Regions from separate parts of the Homo sapiens genome. Here region 1 is linked to region 2. The links are contacts of gene promoters, found by promoter capture Hi-C in blood cells and fetal thymus (Javierre and others, 2016). All regions are on one chromosome and are shown on one strand. Each heading gives the region's core, a stretch centred on a gene start or on the middle of the fragment in contact. The rest is flanking DNA. Distances are from core to core; before and after follow the strand shown.

What was found. The method cuts DNA at HindIII sites, captures the fragments that hold promoters and counts their contacts. A CHiCAGO score of 5 or more calls a contact.
Region 1: a fragment that was not itself captured here is called in contact with the fragment with the promoter of FXYD3 in region 2 in 4 of 17 cell types (total B cells, naive B cells, total CD4 T cells and 1 more); the score reaches 10.2 in total B cells.

The regions. Positions count from the first base shown.
Region 1 is chr19:35,409,269-35,416,117 of GRCh38, reverse strand. LINC01531 (long intergenic non-protein coding RNA 1531) reads right to left here. Exons shown (of 5, transcript NR_040046.1): 3 at 6,646-6,832; 4 at 4,836-4,956. It also overlaps the pseudogene RN7SL491P. Among named protein-coding and RNA genes, the nearest start is that of LINC01531, 7.1 kb to the right of the region's middle. The HindIII fragment of the contact is 289 bases long and covers 3,179-3,467 here.
Region 2 is chr19:35,110,488-35,117,620 of GRCh38, reverse strand. It overlaps FXYD3 (FXYD domain containing ion transport regulator 3), which reads right to left and starts at 1,798. Exons shown (of 9, transcript NM_005971.4): 1 at 1,662-1,798; 2 at 1,262-1,357. LOC124904701 (hepatitis A virus cellular receptor 1-like) reads right to left here. Exons shown (of 3, transcript XR_007067238.1): 3 at 3,952-4,274. The HindIII fragment of the contact is 1,620 bases long and covers 1,171-2,790 here.

The DNA.
Region 1 (6,849 bases), core at 2,074-4,573, 300 kb before region 2:
TTGCAAGGTACAATTTAAAATCATGGACAGGAAGGATGCACTTAAAGTCCAGTATGACGCTGCCTCTGATGAAGAAGGTAGGAGATTCAGTGAGAGAGAAGCATAATGGGAACATCAATCACAAAAATCTAAAGAAATACGACTCAGTGTTGGCTGGTGCAGTGGCTCACGCCTGTAATCCCAACACTTCGGGAGGCCGGGGTGGGCTGATCAACTTGAGGAGGTCAGGAGTTTGAGACCAGCCTGGCCAACATGGTGAAACCCCATTTCTACTAAAAATACAAAAATTAGCCAGGTGTGATGGTGTACACTCGTAATCCCAGCTACTCAGGAGGTTGAAGAGGGAGGATCACTTGAACCCGGGAGGCGGAGGTTGCAGTGAGCTGAGATCATGCCACTGCACCCCAGCCTGGACAACAGAGCGAGACACTCTAAATAAATGTCTCACAAAACTCAATAGTAAAACAAAACACAATCAAGCAATTCAATTAGAAAATGGGCAAAAGGCTAATCTTTAGAACAAGGATGAGCATAAAGCAATGAATATACAGGCTTGTGCAGAGCAATTACATTATGTCCATCTCAGCTTCAAACTTGCTTTAAGCTAAGGAAGGAGAATATTTGGTTTTCAAATCTAAAAATCCCCAGAGTAGATCTGCTTTAGGACATCAAATGCCTGAATGTGTGGTTTTTCTCTGTTTCACCTTCCTTTAAGTTGACTTCAGGCTTAGGCAGCCTCTCTTCACAATGGCCCCCAGAAGAGAGGGACCAGCCTTCAAGTTCAAGATCAGTAGAAGAGAGGTTCTTTCTCCTGGTGGTTAAAAGAGAAGGGCTGGCCAGGTGCGGTGGTTCATGCCTATAATCCCAGCACTTTGGGAGGCCAAGGTGGGTGGATCATGAGGTCAAGAGATCGAGACCATCCTGGCCAACATGGTGAATCCCCGTCTCTACTAAAAATACAAAAATTAGCTGGGCGGGGTGGTGCGCGCCTCTAGTCCTAGCTACTCAGGAGGCTGAGGCAGGAGAATTGCTTGAACCTGGGAGGCAGAGGTTGCAGTGAGCCAAGATTAACGCCACTGCACTCAAGCCTGGTGAGACTCTGTCTCAAAAAAAAAAAAAAAAAAAAAGGCTGGATCCACAGTGGGTGCACTCTGTCACCCAGGCTGGAGTGTGCAGTGGCATGGTCTTGGCTCACTGCAACCTCCACATCCCGTGTTCAAGTGATTCTTCCGCCTCAGCCTCCCAAGTAGCTGGGATTACAGGTGTGCACCACCACGCCCAGCTCATTTTTGTATTTTTAGTAGAGACAGGGTTTCGCCAAGTTAGCCTGGCTGGTCTCAAACTCCTGACCTCAACTGATTCGCCTGCCTCAGCCTTCCCATGTGCTGGGATTACAGATGTGAGCCACCATGCCCAGCCTGGGTTCATCTTTCATTGGTCTGGATTGAGTCATGCACCCAAGTGTGAACCATCACTGTGGTCAGAGGATGAACTGTAGATGAGCAGGGTCCTGGTTTCACACCTGCCCCTGGAGCAGGAGCTGGGGGTAAAGTCAGCTCCACCAAACCACATGGCAGAGGACAAGGGAGAGATGTTGCTAAGAAGGCCAAACCAATCGGTGCCATCTCTGATTGCTGGTTCATTTTTGAAAAGAGACTGTAGAGAATGTTATGATAAAATTGCAATCCTCAGGGTCCAACAATCAGTACACTCTTCCACCCCTTCCTCTTGTGTTTTTTTTTTTTTTTTTTGGTTGTTGTTTGCTTTAGACGGAGTGTCTGCTCTTGTTGCCCAGGTTGGAGTGCAATGGCATGATTTTGGCTCACTACAGCCTCTGCCTCTTGGATTCAAGTGATTCTCCTGTCTCAGCCTCTCAAGTAGCTGGGATTACAGCTGCACACCACCACGCCCAGCTAATTTTTATATTGTTAGTAGAGATGGGGTTTTGCCATGTTGGCCAGGCTGGTCTTGAACTCCTGGCCTCAGGTGATCTGCCTGCCTCAGCCTCCCAAAGTGCTGGAATTACAGGCATGAGCCACCATGCCCGGCACACCCCTCCCTCTTATCACTGTGTCCCACCCCTAGGAGCAGGACTTCCCCAAGGTCATTGAGAGTAACATTGTAAATGGTGGCATCTTGAGCCCATCTTTAGGAGAAAGGTCTCCCATAAGTTTACAGAAATCAAGTGACCTAACGTCACATCACAGTCCCTTTCTGGTGGACACTCACTCTCCCCACCATTAACCTGAAAACCGGAGAGGGCTGAAGGAGCCTTGCCGGTAACCTTCAAACTTCCATTCCTCGCTTAACACAATGCCTCAGGAACCATTTATTTACCGGGAGGTGCAATGGAACTAGTTGAATCGCCCTAGCTTATATTAACTAGGTGCTATCAAGTAGTCTAACAGTAAAATTGAGGCTTTCACAAAGGCTTTGTGAATTCCCCCGTTCAAAATAAAACACACTAAGCCTGTTTATAACTTTTGCCCTGAAAATCTTTCTTTAATCTTTGCTGACAGGAATTAAATATGCACTTTCCCTAGGATGACATAGGACAAATATAATTAGTATTATGCTTTCCTTCTCCCCCAGTTCCTATAGCCTCTAAGATTGGAAATCCTACATATAGTTTGGGTTAATATTCCACCTAATTGTAGATGAAGTAATCCTTCCCCATAAAACAAGAAGAAAAACTCCAATTTAAACAATCCTTAGGCCAGGCGCGGTGGCTCAAACCTGTAATTCTAGCACTTTGAGAGGCTGAGGTTGATGAATCACTTGAGGCCAGGAGTTCAAGACCAGCCTGGCCAACATGGTGAAACCCCATCTCTACTAAAAATACAAACATTTGCCAGGTGTGGTGGCGCATGCCTGTAATCCCAGCAACTCGGGAAGCTGAGGCATAAGAATTGCTTGAGCCTGGGAGGCGGAGGTTGCAGTGAGCCAAGCTCATGCCACTGCACTGCAGCAGTCTGGGTTACAGAGCGAGACTCTGTCTCAAAAAAAAAAAAAAAAAAAAAAAAAAAGCATCTTTAGAACAGGAACTAACATAACATGGTGAATACAGGTCTGTGCGGCGCAATTACATCCCATCCATCTGAGCCGGCTTTGTTACTTCTTTATCTCCTCATGGAATAGTTCTGATTGTTAAGTATCATATTTAATATCTCAACAAGCTTTGCATTTTATCAGGCAAACTTTAAACTCACTTTGAGAGGTTAAGTGGCATTAGACTTTATGAAATTTCGAATCATTAAAGACACATCAGGTAGCAGAAGGTTTTATATGTGCACAATTGCACTTAGCAGAGTAATCCTGTCTGTCATCTCACCAGGTCAGCAATTCTCAAACTTGTGGATCTCAAGGTCGGTTTATACTCTTGAAAATTACTGAAGGGATGGGTGTGGTGGCTCACCCCTCTAATCCCAACACTTTGGGAGGCTGAGGCAGGTGGATTGCTTTAAGCTTAGGAGTTTGAGACCAACCCGGGCAACATGGCAAAACCCCATCTCCACAAAAAATACAAGAATTAGCTGAGCATGGTGGCGTGCACCTGTAGTTCCAGCTACTTGGGAGGCTGAGGTGGGAGGGTTGCTTGAGCCTGGGAAGACGAGGCTGCAGTGAGTTGTGTTCATGCCACTGCACTCACCCTGGGTGGCAGAGTGAGACACTGTCTCGAAAAAAAAAAGAAAAAAGAAAAAAAAGGAAAGAAAAGCAAAAATGAAAATTCCTGCCAGGCGTGGTGGCTCATATCTATAATCCTAGGACCTTGGGAGACTGAGGTGGGCAGATCATGAGGTCAGGAGTGCGAGACCAGCCTGACCAACATGGTGAAACCCTGTCTCTACTAAAAATACAAAAATTAGCCGGGCATGGTGGCTTGTGCCTGTAATCTCAGCTACTTGGGAGGCTGAGGCAGGAGAATCGCTTGAAGCCAGGAGGCAGAGGTTGCGGTGAGCCGAGATCACACCACTGTACTCCAGCCTTGGCAACAAGAGTGAAACTGCGTATCAAAAAAAACAAAAAAAAAAAACAAAAAAAAAACAAAGTTAAAACAGAAAAATTTAAAAATGTGTATTAACTTATCTTATAATAATAATAACCATAAAACCATTACATGTTAATATAAATGACACGTTCCTAGAAAAAACAACTATATCTTCAAAAAATTCGTGACAGTGGCATTGTTTTACATTTTTGCAGATCTCTTTAATGCCTGGCTTAATAGAAGACAGCTGTATTTTCCTATCTGGTCTGCATTCATTCCGTCATGATATCACGTCACGTAGCTCTCAAAACCTCCACTGTGCACATTATTTGTGAGATAATGAAGGTGAAGAGAGCAATCAGCATTTTAATAGCATTATGAATAGTTTTGACCTCACAGACAGTGCTTTGAAAACTGCTGCCCTAGATTCACATAGTTCGAAGCTACTTGGGTTGGGTTTTCCTTGATGTGTGGTATTAAAGGGAAGAAGGAAGGGAGGGAGGGAGTAACTCATTGAGGAACTCCTACCATCTTACAGTGTTTAAAATAACCACTAAATAATGGAAACAGAACATACAGTTTCCAAGTCAGTGGAGGAATAAATGAAATGAGAAAGAAAAGAAATAAACGAACTGAATCTCAAAAGAAGGCTAGAGAGAAGAAAAAAAGAAATATTAAAAGGTGAGGGATGGCTTGGCAAGGTGGCTCACACCTGTAATACCAGCACTTTGGGAGGCCGAGGTGGTTGGATCACCTAAGGTCAGCAGTTCAAGACCAGCTTGGTCAACATGGTGAAACCCCGTCTTTAATAAAAATGCCAAAATTAGCCAGGCATAGTGGCACACACCTGTAATCCAAGCTACTTGGGAGGCTGAGGCACGAGAATTGCTTGAACCCAGGAGGTGGAGGTTGCAGTGAGCTGAGATCATGCCGTTGACTTCAGCCTGGGCAACAGAGTGAGACTGTGTCTGAAAATAAAATAAAATAGAATAAAATAAAATAAAATAAAATAAAATAAAAGATGAGGGAAATAAAAAGCACAAAATAATATGGTAGACTTTTTGCTTTTTCTTAAATAGGTGTGTTCACTCTGTGATATTTGTGATAGTTTATTTGGCCTGTACACTTATTATTTGGCCATGCATGGTGATATGGTTTGGCTGTGTCCCCACCTAAATCTCATCTTGAATTGCAGTTCCCATAATCCCAAGTGTCATGGGAGGAACCAGGTGGGAGGTAATTGAATCATGGGGTGGGTTACCCTCATGCTGTTCTCCTGATAGTGAGTGAGTTCTCACGAGATCTAATGGTTTTATCAGATGGCTTCTCCCATTTTGCTCTGCACTTCTTGCTGCTGCCATGTGAAGAAGGACCTGTTTGCTTTCCCTTCCACCATGATTCTATGTTTTCTGAGGCTTGCCCAGCCCCGTGGAACTGTGAGTCAATTAAACCTCTCTTCTTTGTAAATTACCCAGTCTCGGGTATGTCTTTACTAGCAGCGTGAGAATGGACTAATACACACGGTATGCATGTATATTTCAATATATGTGCACATACTTCACTAAAAGTATTTAAAATAAGATGACAGAGATAAATTCAAATATATTGGAAATTATTATTTTATAACTATAAATGGACAAAATGGTACAGTTAAAAGACAAATATTGTCCAGTTGTCAGACCAGATTACAAAAAAATCCAACCACTCTATACACTGCTTAGGAAAAGCACATTTAAAACATAAAGATATAGCAAGGTTGAATGTAGAAGGATGGACAGAGATGGACTGGCAAATAATAAGCAAAAACCAAGTTGATGTGGCTCTGTTAATATCAGACAAAATCAATGTTAAGGCAGAAAGAATTTTGAAAGTTTCAATTCACCAGGGAGACAGAACTACAAGGAGAAATAGGCAAATTTACCATGATAGAAGGAGCATGTAACACACCTCTTCATATAACTGATAGATTAAATAGATGAAAATGTATATAAAGGTTATGAAGATTTGAACATCATAAATTAACAAGTTTGATCTAAGGTATATACAGAGAACATAGCACCCAACAATTACAGAATCTATCTTCTTTTCATTACTGGAATACTAGAATACTGTTTATATTCTAAGCCAAAAAACAATTCTCAGCAAATTTCAAAGAACTGATACCATTGAAACAATACTCTGTAGTTAGAAATGAATAACAAAAGGATAAAGGGGGGAAACATCTGTGTTTGAAAATTAAGGTACATTTCCAAAGTCAAGAGTCAAATAAAAAAATCCCATGGAATTTGGAGCCTATTTAGAACTCAAAATAATGAGAATGCTGCAAATCAAAACTTGTGACATCCCACTAAAGCTGTTCTTAGAGGGAAATCTATCCAACACACTAAATGCTTACATTAGCAAAGAAGAAAGGCTAAAATGAACGAGCATCCAAGTTAACATGTTAGAAAAGGAGCAACAGAGAAGACTCAATAAAGTAAAAGGAAGGAAACAATAAAGATAAGATTAGAAATCAATGCAACAAGAAAACAAAGATAAATGCTGGAGAGGATCTTGGTTTTCTGAAAAGACAAATTAATGGGTCTCTTGGCAAGACTGAGAAAGGAAAAAAGAAGGCACAAACACAGTAGGATGTAACCACTCAAAAGTATCATGACCTGTTTCTTCCCATCACGTGGACTCTGCTCCGAAGGACAGTTGCTTTTCTTGCCTGGTTTGTCCACCTGTGCCAGCCACTGCTTTGTTTCGGGTGCCGGTCCTTTGAGTCCACATGCAGGCTCCTGCCTTGCTCCCCAGACTTGCCTGTGCTGGGTTGTTCAGATCCAGCATGAGGAACCCCCTTTTCTGAATCGGGGCCAAGG
Region 2 (7,133 bases), core at 549-3,048:
AGGTGGACTGCCTGTGGTCTGAAGCTGTCACCCATGACCATACGAGTCCTGGTAATAACAGCAGATGCTTATTGAGTGTCTACCCCATGGGGGCATTTTCTCAGCTTCCCACTTACTCGCTCAATCTCTGCAGCTTAATGCAGGGGGCACTATTATTAGCCCACATTGCAGTTGTAATCCTGTAACCCCTGCAAATTCATCTTAAAGCCCTATGCTCTGTCGCCATGGCTGTTGAGTCTCACCTCTTAAGCCTCTTTCCAGGGGCTCCTCCAAGCCACCTCTGGCCTGCAAGGCCCCACTATACCCCCTTCCCATGATGTCATCCAGCCAAGACTGACAGATGGTATCCTCCTCGCCCCAGCCTCTGCAAAACAACGTCCAGTCCCATGCTTCCGGAGGCTGCAGGGAGCCGGGAGCTGGGTCTGCCCTCACGTTCCCCATTCAGGCTGTTGTCTGAAGAGGCTGTGGGCTGCTCCCGAACTGATGTGGTTGGTGAGCAGGTTAGAGAGGAAGGCAGCCCTGCAGCTGATGCTCTGTCTACCTGCTCTCATCCTTCCTGGCCATGAGGTCCCAAGGCCGGCCTGAGGACTGTTTCCCCCACCTGCCCTCTGCTATCCCCTCTATTCCTCCATACCATGGGAGAATGGTCTCATGTTCAGGGGTGGGTAGAAAGATCCTGCCCGCTGTGTGCTCCTGAAATCTCCCAAGCAACTCCCCATTTAAAGCTTCCCCCAGCAGCTCCATCCTTTTTTCCTGGAGGTCTCCAGAATCCAGATCCCTCAATGTCTGGACACCCCGAGTCCACCCAGCACTCCTTATCCACCCAGATCCCTCAATGTCTGGACACCCCGAGTCCACCCAGCATTCCTCATCCACCCAGATGTCCCCAGTCCATCTACGCACCCCTGGTCCACTTAGATACCCCTACCTACCCAGGCACCCCCTCTCCTCCACCCAGCTATCCCCAACCCAGATATCCCTAATCCATGCAGACACTAGTCTTTCAGACACCCCAACCACACTTATCAGTCCTGCCCTCACCTCAGCTGGTTCAACAAGTCCCTGAGAGGAGAATGGTGGGGAAAGGGACATTAGGGGAAGGGACTTCCGTTTATCTCCTGGCTCCAGAAAAGCATTTCACAAGATTTTAGGCGCTTTAACATAAAAGCTTCTATGGGGCAGGGTCAGGGGGCAGGTAGATACTTCCTAATTTAGGGGCAGAGACAAGGAGGGCTTGGAGGAAGGGGCCCCAGCTGCTCACCTGTGTGGTTCACCAGGCTGAGCAGAGGTTCCGGGAGAAATCGGGCTGCCAGGCGGAGTCCTGCGTTTATCCGAAGCTGCCACGCCCTAAGCAAACCTGGGCAGGTAGAAAACAAGTCAGATGCCCTGAGGCCCAGGGGCTCCATTCCTGCTCTTAAAGAGACAGCTTCACCCCCTCCCCAGCCATGGGCGGCAGGTTGCTCCCTGGGGTCACCAGGACCACAGCAGCCTCAGGTGAGACGGAGAATTGGATGGGCTGGAACTCGGCCCCTGGAATTAAGGGAGGAGCTTTCTCCAATCTCCTGTGCCCAGGAGAGGACCTTGAATGGGGAAGGTTCTGGGGTCTTTAAACGGCAGAGCCTCCAGGGCCATGCAGTGAGATGATGCGTTGGTGTTCCGACCTCACTTCTTTTCCTTAGATGATGTGTTTTGCCTGGTGGAAGGATTGCTGGCAGTTGTGGAGAACTTAAAGTCCCCTTCCAGGCCACATCTTGCCGCTGGTACAATTTCAGGATCAGCAGAAGATGCTAGCGTGACCAAAGTCAGGAGATGGGGCAGGGGTGGATATGAGGGAGCGGCTGGAACAGCAGGGAGGGGTCAGGGTGGGGACTCTGGGACCTTAGTCCTGGTCATAACCTGCTCCCTGCCCTGGGGAGAATGAGAACTGTCTGCCAGGCACCAGGCTGCAGTTTCCTAGCCAGGCTCTTTCCGTGGGTGCTGGGAGCCAGACGCCTGGGTCTACAGAGTGGGTGCTGGTGGGGGCGGCTGCCTCCTAGTCCACATAAGGCCCCCAGCACTGTACAAGCCTCCCTCCCCCTTTCCTCCCCTGTCTCCTGCTCCTCCTCCTCCAGGCATTCCTTCCGGATGGGGTCTGTGCAGGCTCCCCCATGGTCCCAGTTGGGGGTGCCCCCTCCCCTCAATTCCGCCTTCTTAGACAGAGGGACTTTTGTCTGGGGGCTGGATGGAGAACAAGGATCCTTTGAGCGGTTGGCGGAGGATTGGGGTCACGGGGAGGGGTAGGGCCAGGAAAGGGGTAGCTCTGCCCTGGACACCAGCTGGACTCCAGGCGACCCCAACACCACCGTGGGGGCGGGGAGGAGGGCTGCAGGGCCTGGCCAGGGAGAAGCAGCTGCTGGGAGTGTGGAGCACAGGACAGGAAAAGGGGGTTTGGGTCAAGGCTCTTCCGGAAACTGGCCTGCTGGGGGCAGAGAGAAGGACCCCCCACTTGTCATCGCTGAGGGATCGGGGAGGGCAATGTTCGCCCAGCGCTACACCCCTTCTCTATGTGGTTCCCTGGGGCAAGTTGTCAAGCCCAGGTCCTAGACAAGGGTAAGGCTCCCTCCTACCACTCTTAAGGCGGGGCCAGTTCCCATAAGGAAGCCGGGCGGGGGGACCTCGGGGTAGGGCTCTAAGCAACAGGTCCAGGAGGAGATAGAAACAGGAAGGGGAGGCCCGGAGGCCAACTCAGTATAGCTAAGGGGGGTCTTTGTGTCTGGGCGGATAGCGTCTCTTCCCTAGACCCTTGAAGCTTGTGTCTGGGACGACCCCTTGGTGGTCTTGGGAGTGGAATGGTGTCTCCCTCTGCTGGGAAGCCTGGGAACTGCAGGCATCCGAGAGCGAGTAGGGGCGTGTACAGGGTGGCTGGGAAGGGCGGGGGGTGCTCTGCCCTTCACCGGAACGGGGTGAACTGGAGAACTGTTGTCTAAAAATCTTGGAGGAACACCCCTGCCCGTGGTTAGATACAGAAGTATTTCCCAGACAGCTTGCTAAGGGGAAAAAAAACAAGGTATTGGGAAACCGTGCAGTGTGCTACCATTTGTGAGCGGTAAAATAATGCATATGTATATACTTGTAATGAATAAAATATTTTTGGAGATTGGCATCCATACCCATGGCTTCTGGAGAGGGAAACTGGGAGGCTGGAGGGTGGGGTGGAAGTGAGACTCACTCATTATCACGTGCCCTCTTATATTTTTTGAATTTTGCATCTTGAAAATGTACTACCTTAAAGGGGTTTAATTTAAAAAATTTGGTTCAGATTTAAAAAAAAATTTGCAGGTCAAAATTTCAACCTAAGGGCTGGTTTCAACCTGGGGGACCAGCAATTAGAGACTTCTGACAACCTCTGAATGTTCTGTAGTTTTAAACACCATGATCTTACATTCTGAGGTACAGACGTTTACGGTTTTTACCCAATCCAGGTCAACCATAAATTCTTCCTAGGCTGGACGTGAACATGCTGCGTCCAAGTGTGTGTTGGGCTGGCGCTGGGGCTTGGGTTTATGGTCAGAAGGACTCTGAGACCCTAGTGTGATGAGCACACTGAGTCTTAGGAAGGGCTGTGAGGAGTAGAGTTTGTGCAGTCACTTGCACCCTATTGGGGATTAGGTCTCATTTGGAGTGAGTCTTCTGGGCCAATCTGACTTCAGTTATGTTTTAAATGCATGTAGGTAATATGTTTTATTAATATATTGTATATAATATACATAATAAACATATTTGAAAAAGTTTCTCTCGTTTTGCTTTTGGAATCATTTGGGCCCAAAGAACCTGTTAAGGCTGTGAGTGGCTGTGATTTCTCCATATCCTGGGAATTCTTGCAAAATGAAAAAAACCAAACCTACAGATAGTTTCTGACATCATAAGTTTTTCAGGAACGCTGAATTAAAGCACAGAATCAAAGCCAGAGCATGTTATACCATCCCTGATTCAAACTTTTATTGATTTTGTTTCAATAATTTCGTTGCTCTTTATTCAAGGCTGGGAGCGTTTCTGCAGGCTCCTGGCCCTAGAGAGGGCAGCCTGGAGGCACCCCCAGCCATGAGAGGGGTGCTGGTTGGGTGGGGCCTTGCCTTTGCAGGTAGAGCCTGAGCGGCCAGGCTGACCGGCTGGGAGGTGTGGTCACAGCGATACGCCAAGGTCCCACTTCCTGGGCAAGATGGGGCTAGAGAGGCCGGTGGACAGGGTAATGTGGCTTCCTGGGGCTTTGTGGAACAGCGCTGTGGTCTCAGCACCTGTGGGAGAAGAGTGGGCACTGGCAGGTAACCCTGTCCCACCACCATGGGGATGGTGTGGCTGTGGACGTATCACTGTCCGCCTGGCTTCCAGGAGCCATGTGAGGTGACACAGTGGCCAAGAGTCCACAGGCTCCCTGACACCTGCCTCTGTGCTGCTCTGACGTCATCACTCACCCACAGAAGCTAGAAATGGAGATTTTTATGATGAAATCTCCTGTTTTGTTTTGTTTTTTTTTTGAGATGGAATTTTGCTCTTGTCGCCCAGGCTGAAGTGCAGTGGCACGATCTCAGCTCACTGCAACCTCTGCCTTCCAGGTTCAAGCAATTCTCGTGCCTCAGCCTCTCGAGTAGGTGGGATTACAGGTGTGTGCCACCACGCCCGGCTAATTTTTGTATATTTAGTACAGACGGGGTTTCACCGTGCTGGCCAGGCTGGTTTCCAACTCCTGACCTCAAGTGATCCGCCTGCCTCAGCCTCCCAAAATGCTGGGATTACAGGCATGAGCCACCGAGCCCGGCCTTCCGGATTTTTTTTTTTTAAGGTGAGTTCTTGCTCTGTTGCCCAAGCTGGAGTGTAGTGGTCCAATCATGGCTCACTGCAGCCTCCAACTCCTGGGCTTAAGTGATTCTCCCACCTCAGCCTCCCCTGTAGCTGGGACTACAAATGCACGTCACCACACCTGGCTAATTTTTTAATTTTTTTAGAGACGGGGGTCTCGCTATGTTGCCCAACCTGGTCTTGAACTCTGGGTCTCAAGTGATCCTCCCACCTTGGCTTCCCGAAGCGCAGGGATTATAGGTGCAAGCCACTGCACCCGGCCCTGATTTTTAAATGTTGGTAACTTCGTTTTCTTAACACTTTGTAGACAGAATGAAAAATATCCAGTGGTTGGATAAGGCCCTGGGGCCACCGGTTGGAGACCCCCATCTTACAGACTAGGGAAACTCAGGGGAGGTTCAGGGTTCCCCCTAACCCCTGTTGTCACTCACTCTGCTCCGGCCACCTGGGCCTCCTTGCCGTTCCTGGATCACTCCAGGCATGTTTCTGGCCAAGAGCCCTTGCAATGCCTATTCCCTTGCCTGGCTCTCTTTTCTCCCGCATCTGGACAGCTCAAAGCCATGAGGTTCAAGTGGCTTTCCCCGACCACCATCGCACCTACCCCCTGACCTCTCTATGACCTTTTGACTTCTGTTTGCTTTTTTTTTTTTTTTTTTGTGGTGCTATCTGCCTCCCCTGCTAGCACGTCAGCTCCTCTCAGGGATTTTCATCTGAATTATAGAACAGGGCCTGGTGCATAGTGGGTGGTCACGAAGTATCTGTTAATTACCAGGCTGGGCACCATGGCTCACGCCTGTAATCCCAGCACTCTGGGGGGCCGAGGCTGGAGGATCCTTTGAGTCCAGGAGTTCAAGACCAGCCTGGGCAATATAGAGAGATCTTGTCTCTACAAAAATAAAAATAAAAGTAGGTTTAAAACAATTATAAAAGAAAGGCTTTCTCCACCGCCACCCCCCATCCACGGAGGCCTTGCAGGAGGAGCTGAGGTGGGGGTGCTGAGGGTGGAGCTGCTGATGGGGGCAGGGGGTGTGGAGGAATGAATGTCTTGGCCAGCTTCCCCATCATGTGGGGAGTGGGGGCGGCGTGGTGGGGGTGGGGAGGGCTTGGGCAGATGGCTGGGGGTCCTGGGTGCGGGCAGGAACTACAGGGAAGCAGGAAAGGGCAGGGAACACATTTGGAGCTAGACATCTGGGACAGGGACTTCTGGTTCAAGTGGGAGCCCTGCAGCCCGCCCCCCCCCCCCAGCCTGACTCAGTCCCTAAGAGAAGGATTGCAAACTGGCGGTCCCAGGGTGGAACCCAACTATTGTACCTTTAGTTTTTACAAAGCATTGCAAAAATTAATAATTGCAAACATTTAAACAGCAGGACAAGCTGTGTTTCCAGCATCTCTGGAAAAGTCTGGACTAAAAGACCCCCATTCCCACCTGGAAGCCATTGCTGAGGTGGCAGGTCTGTCTCCCTGGGGTGCCCCAGGCCCCAGCTCTGCCTGGTTTGATGGAGGGAGGGAGGGAGGGAAGGAGGGAGGGAGGGAGGGAGAGAAGGAGACGGGCGCTTGCGGTTGCTCCGGCCCAGACCTGCTCCTGTCACCTCCCATCTCAGACCTGCCTTCCACCTTCAAGGCCATGATTACAGCACAGACTCGACAGATGCAGCTTCTGGGGTGCCTCGGGGCATGGTTGACACAGCAAAGGCCCCAGGACTGTCCTCCGCAGAACAGGAAGAGAGGGCGAATCCGCCTGAAGGATTCAGGAAGAGCTCTGTCCTGTTTTGTGATCTCCCTCCAGAAAAAGGCTAAATATTTATTTATTGGTCAACCAACAACAGAGAAGACTGAGTCTTTTGAAAACGCCTGGACAAGTAAATAGGGACAGGAAAAGTGAGACACAGAAACTCAGAAGAAAATTACATAGATATAAAGAGATAAAGCGAATCAGGCAAAATACTAAGAATTGAGGAAGCTATGTGAAGGGTATTTGAGTGGATTGTACGGGTTACATGACTTTTCTATAGTCGAAAATCTCAAAAGTTGGGGAAAAAAATCAATTAAACAATATATTTTTTCAAGACAATGTCTTGCTCTGTCACCCAGGCTGCAGTGCAGTGGTGAGATCTTGGCTCACTGTGCAACCTCCGCCTCCCAGGTTCAAGTAATTCTCCTGTCTCAGCCTCTGAGTAGCTTGGGATTACAGGTGCCCGCCACCACACCCGGCTAATTTTTTGTCATTTTTTAGTAGAGATGGGGTTTCACCATGTTGGCCAGGCTAGTCTCGAACTCCTGACCTCAAGTGATCCGCC